3 separate regions of the Homo sapiens genome follow, and regions 1 and 3 are each linked to region 2. The links are contacts of gene promoters, found by promoter capture Hi-C in human tissues and cell types (Jung and others, 2019). All regions are on one chromosome and are shown on one strand. The core of a region is centred on a gene start or on the middle of the fragment in contact, and the rest is flanking DNA. Distances in the headings are between cores, read along the strand shown.

Evidence for each region. Contacts are between HindIII fragments. The study calls those that stand out against the background at their distance.
Region 1: a contact is called between a fragment that was not itself captured here and the fragment with the promoter of S100B in region 2, in 2 of the 25 tissues and cell types used here (dorsolateral prefrontal cortex and lymphoblastoid cells).
Region 3: a fragment that was not itself captured here is called in contact with the fragment with the promoter of S100B in region 2 in 2 of the 25 tissues and cell types used here (dorsolateral prefrontal cortex and mesenchymal stem cells).

What each region holds. Positions count from the first base shown.
Region 1 is chr21:46,404,205-46,407,040 of GRCh38, forward strand. The region is part of intron 27 of PCNT (pericentrin); the gene reads left to right. Among named protein-coding and RNA genes, the nearest start is that of DIP2A, 53 kb to the right of the region's middle. RefSeq lists an enhancer at 1-262. The HindIII fragment of the contact is 7,053 bases long and covers 1-2,836 here.
Region 2 is chr21:46,603,621-46,606,368 of GRCh38, forward strand. S100B (S100 calcium binding protein B) reads right to left here and starts at 1,462. Exons shown (of 3, transcript NM_006272.3): 1 at 1,393-1,462. RefSeq lists an enhancer at 2,500-2,748. The HindIII fragment of the contact is 5,448 bases long and covers 1-2,748 here.
Region 3 is chr21:46,387,834-46,390,624 of GRCh38, forward strand. It overlaps PCNT (pericentrin), which reads left to right. Exons shown (of 47, transcript NM_006031.6): 18 at 909-1,051; 19 at 1,366-1,598. Among named protein-coding and RNA genes, the nearest start is that of PCNT, 65 kb to the left of the region's middle. The HindIII fragment of the contact is 3,209 bases long and covers 1-2,791 here.

The DNA of each region.
Region 1 (2,836 bases), core at 99-2,598, 200 kb before region 2:
GAACACAGCGTGGGAGAGTCTCAAAAAACAACAACAATAACAACAAAAAAAATTTTCAAATTGATTTTCCATTTTTCCAATTTAAAACTGTAGGCTTATTTAATTAGGACATTTCATATCTGTAGGGTCAGTGGAATATTTCCCTATTAAGGTTCTGTCGGCTCTGTTTTGATATGGTTGTTGTTATTACCATTTCCACCGGCATTTCTGCCCAACAAAGAAGAGGAGATAGTGCGTGTGAACGAGCAGCTCTAGGCACCGCAGGTTTACCTCGGCGAGGTACGCCACTCCCTGGTGCTGGGGGAGAAGGGGCTCTTCTCACGCTTCTGGCTACGCCTGCGTCTCCTGTACGAAGTCCTCATAGTTTCTGGGTGTGATTGACTGGGGCCTTGGCTTTCCAGGATGACAGTCTTCTGTTTCCTCATACAATATTTATAATACTTTTCAAAATTAATTTTATCAGTTGGGCACGGTGGCTCAAACGCCTGTATTCTCAGCACTTTGGGAGACTGAGGAGGGTGGGTTACTTGAGCTCAGGAGTTCGAGACCAGCCTAAACAACATGGGAAAACCCCATCTCTACTAAAAATACAAAAATTAGCCAGGCATGGTGACACACCACTCCGGAGACTGAGGCAGGAGAATCACTTGAACCCAGGAGATGGAGGATGCAGTGAGCTGTGATTGTGCCACTGCACTCCAGCCTGGGCAACAAAGCAAGACCCTGTCTCAAAAACAAAATTAACTTTATGGCCGGGCACAGTGGCTCTCACACCTGTAATCCCAGGAGTTTGGGAACCTGAGGTGGGAGGATCGTTTGAGCCCAGGAATTCGAGATCAGCCTGGACAACGTAATGAGACCCATCTCTACAAATTTTTTTAAAAAATTTAGCCAGGCATACACCTATAGTACCAGCTACTCTGAAGGATGAGATAGGAAGATCACTTGAGCCTGGGAGGCCAAGGCCACAGTGAGCTGTGATCATGCCACTGTAATCCAGCTGTAATGACAGAACAGGACCCTGCCTAAAAAAAAATAATTTTGGAGGGGACCATAGAAGTAAGGAGAAGTTTGTCTCCAGTTTGTCACTTTTAATTTCCCTTTGACAGAGGCTACTGAGATGTTATCTGTCTTAGTATCTGATTGTATCTTGTATATTTGGCAAAAATTTAAAAATAGCCTTTTGGGTTACATTGAAGAATGCCTTTTATGGCCAGGAGCGGTGGCTCACGCCTGTAATCCCAGCACTTTGGGAGGCCCAGGCGGGCAGATCACTTGAGCTCAGGAGTTCGAGACCAGCCTGGCCAACATGGTGAAACCCCGTCTCTACTAAAAACACAAAAGTTAGCTGGGCCTGGTGGCCGGTGCCTCTAATGGTTACTTGGGAGGCTGAGGCAGAAGAATCACTTGAACCCAGAAGGTGGAGGTTGGCAGTGAGCCGAGATTGCGCCACTGCACTGCAGCCTGGGCGACAGAGCAAGACTCGTCTCAAAAAAAAAAGAATGCCTTTAAAAACCATTGATTACTTTTCAGAAGAAGTTGTATTATTTGTCTATAGTGCTCTAGAACTTGACCTCTAACTATAATCTTATATAATGAAAAATATATAAAAAATAGTTTACATGTTAAGGACAGTATTTTTGTTCCATTAAGAATTGAAAGCTTTTTAAGGACAATCCCCAATATTTTCTTGTGGGATTTTTCTTACAGATATGTGCAAATTCGTACATCCTTCATTTTCTGTAATTCTCCTAATTTTTTGTAAAGATGCGGATGCTATTTTGCTTTATATAATAAAGAAAAGTAAAATTCCATTTAAAGGTTTGACTCTTGTTAGGTTTCCAGTTATTTCAAGGAAACCACATTTGCTGTATTCTACCCTATTTTATGTCAGTGAAGATGTTTGTCTTCTAGAAGCGTCTTTTACACTTGTGGGGAAACGGAGCTCCCGTCTCCCTGGCGTGGTCGTGGTTGTTGTCACTTGTTCTGTACTGCCGTCCTCCGGGGCTCCAGCCATCCTAACACCTCATCCTCAATGTGGGCCCTCCCTCCCTGTGTGGCTTATTCTAACTCTGGGGTTAGTGATGTTTCTTTAATTTTACCATTTACTTCTCCCTTATTCTACAGGTTTTAATAAAGAGGTCTCACGTCTTTTGTTAAATTTATCCTTAAATATTTTAGGTTTTTTGCACTATTGTAAGTGAGATTTAAAATAATTATCTAGTTGTTTACCGTGAATACACATACACCTTTTGTATGTTAACCTTGCTGTTACCTTGCACAATTTATGTATATTAGTAGCGTTTTGTGGATTCCTGAAGGCTTTTTATGTATAAGATAACATCATCTTCAGATAAAGACAGTTTTATTTCTTTCCAATTTTTGTTATTTCCTTCTTTTATTACAATGTCTAGCACTCCCAGTACAAAGTTAAAACTGGCTAGGGCAGTCATCTTTGCCCAGCTCCTTGTCTTACAGGGAAGTGGTCAGTGTTTTGCCATTAAGTATATTAGCTTTAGGTTTTTCACAGGTGCCTTTTTATCAGATCAAGGAAGTTCTGTTATATTTCTAGTTTGCTTTTTCTGGATCTATTGAAATAGTGATGATATTTTTCTCTTTTATTCTACTAATAAGGTTAACTTTATTGAGTGATTTATTTCTTGGAGATTAAACTAACCTTGCGGTTCTAGGATAAACCATACCTGGTAGTGATGTACTGCCCTTTTCATATGTTACAGATATTACTGAATTTGATTTGCTAATATTTTGTTAATGGTTTTTGCATCTGTGTTCATGAGGGATGTTGGTGCATAATTGTCTTTTCTTGCAGTGTTCC
Region 2 (2,748 bases), core at 212-2,711:
GAACGTTTGCGCTGTCATAATTAAAAACAAATTAATAAATCAAATAGTGTTGAAAAATCATTCCCATGTTGAATATATAACTTACATCTTAAAAATAATTTGGAATTATTTTATTTATTTCTGATCCTCCGAAGGAAACAGGATTGAAGATTTTTTTATACTGGCCAGATCTTTGCTAAAGTCATTCTATTAATAATCAGTGTACTTTATTTTGCTCTTGAGTCCCTAAAAATTTGATAATTCACAAATAGAACAATTAAGATGGATTAAAATCTTTAACATTTCATGCTTTCTTATTCTTTGCACTCAAGTTTTCAATTATTGATATATGCATGTTTGTATGTGTGTGTATTTTTTTAAACAAAACAAGACACTTTTACATCATTCTGATGCTCCTCAAAGTCCATGATGATTTGGGGAAAAGGAGGTTAAATTGTTTTTCTATGAATTGTGACTAATGGGATTATTACAAAGGAAAGGCATAAAACATGTATCCCATATATTAGAACACTAATAGAAACCACTAGAAAATATGGTTTTCTTCATAACCACACTACAAATCAATTAAATTCTTGTTAAATTTTTCCCTTTGACCTAAGAAATAGTTGATGGTTTATAGTTTATCTTTTAAGAGAAATGGAAATAAATGTCCGTTTCTTTCTCACATTCTTTGAATGTCCTACATTAATCTTTTAATATTGAGAACAAGAGAACTTTTGAACTTTAACTCCTTAGAAAGACAAGTTACCTAGCGTGTGAGGATCCCTCTAAAGAAGGGGTTCGACCTCCCTGAGAAACTGTGAGACTGAGGAAAGTTAAAACCCACCAAAACCCCGATTTCTTTGACCCAATTTATTTGTAATTGTTACGTAATTTCTGAGTGGCGTCCTGGGGCTGTGGGGACCCTGGCACTTCAAACTGAGGGAAACTGGAAAACTGAAGAGTTACTTACCCAGGGCGGTGGAAGAAATATAAGGAGAAAAGGGAAGCATTTATTTATGATATAGGACTAAACTAGCATTAGGTTCTCCATCATTTTTAGCCCCAGTGGGAAGCAAAATCTTTACTCTTCAAATAGTTACAGAAGAGGCAGTATTTGTAGTACCGCTGGGAAAATGTCAACAATCACTTCTGGGCCATGAAACCTGACGTTTCTCTGATTTATGGCAAAACACACCTCTAGCTGTCTAGGGCTGATGCAGTCAGGTGTCCACAAAGCAGCAGTAATGTGGAGATTAAAACACATCATCCTATTGACACTTCTGAAATGCTGCCAATTGTCCTAAAGGGGCTTTTTAAGCTACCACTTAGTTTCTACCCCTCCATTCCGTTCCACCCAAAAGAAAAGAACCATTTCTTCCTGAGCGTCCTCTTGGCCTGGCTCTTTCTCACCTCTTCCTTGTCTCACCCCTTCCTGGTCTCCTTGCTGCAGGCGTCGTCTCTGCTGCGGGTCCTGGGCGGCAGGACTGGTGGGCAGAGGCAGCCTCTTATTCCCTCTGCCCAGGGAGGATGGATGAACCCTGGTGCAGCCCACTGCAGGCCGTGGCAGCCAATGGGAGCCGAAGGCGGGGGTGGCAGGGCTGCCAGGCCTGCACACAGGGCTGCATTGACCAAGCAGCCCCGGGGACTTGCTGGGAGCCAGGATTGCACATGGGCTGAGGAAGAAAAAAGGGCCTGTAGGGCAGGAAGTGGGGAGTCAGCTTTTTGTGCGATTTCTTTATTACATGAATATTGATGTCACCCTAAAGGCAAGGTTGGGGGTGGGGAGAGGAGAGAGACTTGGATTAATTGATTCAAACAAAGCAAATGTGCAGCCAAGAACAAGCAGCTTCCAAGTACAGGCTGAGCATAGGAGATTAAGTGGCCTGCAAGTTGGTTTCTAATGGAGAGGCCCCTGGAGCTTCTCTCCTCTGCCATCCTCCAAGTCTGGCCCCACTGGGCGTGAAGTTCTGTGGACAGTAGTGCTTGTCTGTGGTCAGCCCTGGGCTCAACGGGGCTGCCTCAGAGAAGCTGCTGAGGCCAGTGTCTGCAGGGACTAAAACGGGTGGTACTTTTAGGGGAAAACGTGATGTGTGGACTGTATCCCAAGGCCTTTCCCTCCACCCCAGGGTGGAAGGTCACAGACTCTCAGAGTTGGACGATGCCTTAGAGATGTCCCGTTCGAACGCTGTTTTACAGAGGCGTGTGGACGGTGTGCCCCCTTGCTGAAGCCTCCAGCCAGCCTGAGGAAGGAGAAGTCCAGCTGTCCCCTCAACTCGCTCGACTGGAGCCTCTGAACACGGGGGCCAGTTTATGGGTTCTTCTTCACAAGAATGAAGAAGTAGGTGTTCCTTCTGACAAATTACACAAGAACATTGGCCCAAACTCTCCAAAAATGTCCATGGTCCCCAATGGATGCCTGACCCAGCATCACGTCCTTCTCCCAACCCAGTTTCAAAGTGGCCGTGAAAGGGTTTCCCACAAGATATCTGTGTACATGGCTGTCTTGCTGTCATTGTTTTATCCAGGACGTTCTCTACCATTCAGGATCTGTAAGTGTGCCCTGGAAATAGCACAGGGCTGAGAGCTGTGGTCTTGCGTGGCTCAGCCTGCCCCAGCCTCCTGTGAGGAACAGCCTGAGCAGTGTGGTTGGCCCTCACTTCCTCATCGGCTTCACCACCCCTGGCTGTGGTCTCTGCTGAAGGATCTGACACAGGCTTGCTCTGTGAAGCACAGAGCTTGCCCAGGCCCAAGGAAGGCACAACTGTG
Region 3 (2,791 bases), core at 83-2,582, 220 kb before region 2:
AGCGGCGTCACAGCTCCTAAATCATAGTGCAGGGAGCGAGATGTGGAGGGGCCTGTGGCCTCGGGAGCCCCTGTGTGTAAAAACAGAAGCATCCCAGCCGGGCGCAGTGGCTCACGCTTGTAATCCCAGCACTTTGGGAGGCTGAGGCGGGTGGATCATGAGGTCAGGAGATCGAGACCATCCTGGCTAACATGGTGAAACCCCATCTCTACTAAAAATACAAAAAATTAGCCGGGCGTGGTGACAGACGCCTGTAGTCCCAGCTACTCGGGAGGCTGAGGCAGGAGAAAGGCGTGAACCCGGGAGGTGGAGCTTGCAGTGAGCCAAGATCGTGCCACTGCACTCCAGCCTGGGCGACAGAGCGAGACTCCATCTCAAAAAAAAAAAAAGACAGAAGCATCCCAGACCGCACGTCCACGAGGCCTAGCGAGAGGCTGGGAGACACCATCCTCTTCCTGCCACACAACTCCTGTGAATGTGTGGCTGAGGCGTGACTTGGTGTTGGACAGACATCTTGTGAAATGGCTGGCTGGTGCACCCTGTGCTCCAGGGGAGGGGCGGAGCCTGTGTGCTGCTCCCGGGTGATTGACGCTGTGCGGCCACATCGCACACCTGCGGGACGGGTTTGCCGTGTTCCTAATGTGATGCCTTTTACACATCAGAAATGGCATCAGGAAGACCTCACCTAGGAAAGCCCGTGTCCCTGAGTGGGCTCCACGTGGTTGTCTTGTCTGTGGCCTCAGCTTCCTGTGCTCACATGGGCATGAGGATCATGTCTTCCGGCCCCGTGGGGACAGGCAGCCGTGGGCCGAGGTGTGCAAACTGGTGGGCGGCCCCTCAGCAGCATCCAGGGTGGGGGTTCTTATGCCGTGACCAGCTTGCCTGATGATGGGTGTCTCCTGTCTCAGAGGGGCCCTCCAGGACGCCCTGCGCAGGCTGCTGGGTTTGTTTGGAGAGACGCTGAGGGCAGCCGTCACCCTGAGGAGCCGGATCGGGGAGCGCGTGGGGCTCTGCCTGGATGACGCGGGCGCAGGCCTGGCCCTGTCGACAGGTGAGTGTGCCGGGACCAGCTGCCCAGCCCTGTGCTTGCAGCCCCTCTGTGGTCCTGGAGCTCTCTGAGAGGAGCCTCCGTATTGGGCGATGCCCTTGGGAGCACTGCCGTCCTGGTTTCCTGCTAGTTTCCGCACTTACAGAAGGCCGAGACCGGGGTTTGGGCTAAATTTGTCAGCTCCCGTGGACGTGGCGCTGACTCATCTCGGCTGGGGCGACGTTCTGAGTTCTGTGGCTTCCTTGTCGTCTTGGCTGCCATGGCCGCGGCCGGCTTGCTCACTGAGCCGCGTGTGCCGGCATCTGCTCATCTTGTAGCTCCGGCGCTGGAGGAGACATGGTCTGATGTGGCCCTCCCGGAGTTGGACAGAACTTTGTCTGAATGTGCAGAGATGTCTTCCGTGGCTGAAATTAGCAGCCACATGCGTGAAAGCTTTCTCATGAGCCCAGAAAGTGTGCGGGAGTGTGAGCAGCCCATCCGGAGGGTCTTCCAGAGCCTCAGCCTGGCCGTGGACGGCCTCATGGAGATGGCCCTGGACTCCAGCAGGCAGGTGAGGCCCAGGCTCCCGGGGTCCTGTGGAGATGTGAACAACTGAGTAGCTGATGATGCCACACGAGCCTGGTGGATGCCGGTGCCAACGACGCTCGCACGGGTTTCTCCCCAAGGAGGAGGCTTTTCTGAACCAGATCTTTGAGGAAGTGGGCTTGCTACGAATGAGAGAATCTGTTTGTTTAATTTGGATAATAAACAGGCCCATTTTCTTTACTTCATGCACTGTTGCAATTCCATGTGGAGTGTTTTCATATTTAGAGATTATCACTAAGAAAGGAAATTTTTTGTAACCGTTTTAGAACATTTTAGACAATTAAAAAAGACATTAAGTAGGAATACACGGAAAGCAATCAAAGATCTTTTTTTCAGCCAGGCACAGCGGCTCACTCCTGCAGTCCCAGCACTTTGGGAGGCTAAGGTAGGAGGTTCACTTCAGCCTACTTCAGCCCACGAGCTCATCTTGTAGCTCTGGCGCTGGAGGAGATGTGGTCTGATGTGGCCCTCCCGGAGTTGGACAGAACTTTGTCTGAATGTGCAGAGATGTCTTCCGTGGCTGAAATTAGCAGCCACATGTGTGAAAGCTTTCTCATGAGCCCAGAAAGTGTACGGGAGTGTGAGCAACCCATCCGGAGGGTCTTCCAGAGCCTCAGCCTGGCCGTGGACGGCCTCATGGAGATGGCCCTGGACTCCAGCAGCCAGCCTGGGCAACATAGCGAGACCTCATTTTAAGTTAGCCAGGCGTGGTGGCATGCGTCTGCGGTCCCAGCTCCTCAGGAGGCTGAGGCAGGAGGATTGCTTGATCCTGGGAGGCTGAGGCTGCCGTGAGTTGTGGTTGCACCACTGCACTCCAGCCTGGGTGCAGAGCAAGACCCTATCTCAAAAATGAAAATAAAAATTCTTTTTTGCTAAGTTTTGAGTTCAGAGGTAACTCTGGGTCTCAGCCTGTAGATGGCCTGGGAGCCCCAGACTGGACACAGTTGCCAGGGGAGTGTCTGGAGGAAGGGAGAGGGGCCCAGGGCTGAACTGGGAGGCTGAGGAGGGGTCCTCATTGGAGACTGTGGCCACAGTGTCTCGGAGGGTGGCTGAGATGTGCTCAGGTCCCGTCACCCTGGCCTGGCCCTGCCTGGGTGGTGACGGCCTGAAGGGTCTGGGGGTAGAAGTGGCGTTCTCTTGGTCTTAATGTAGGCTTCA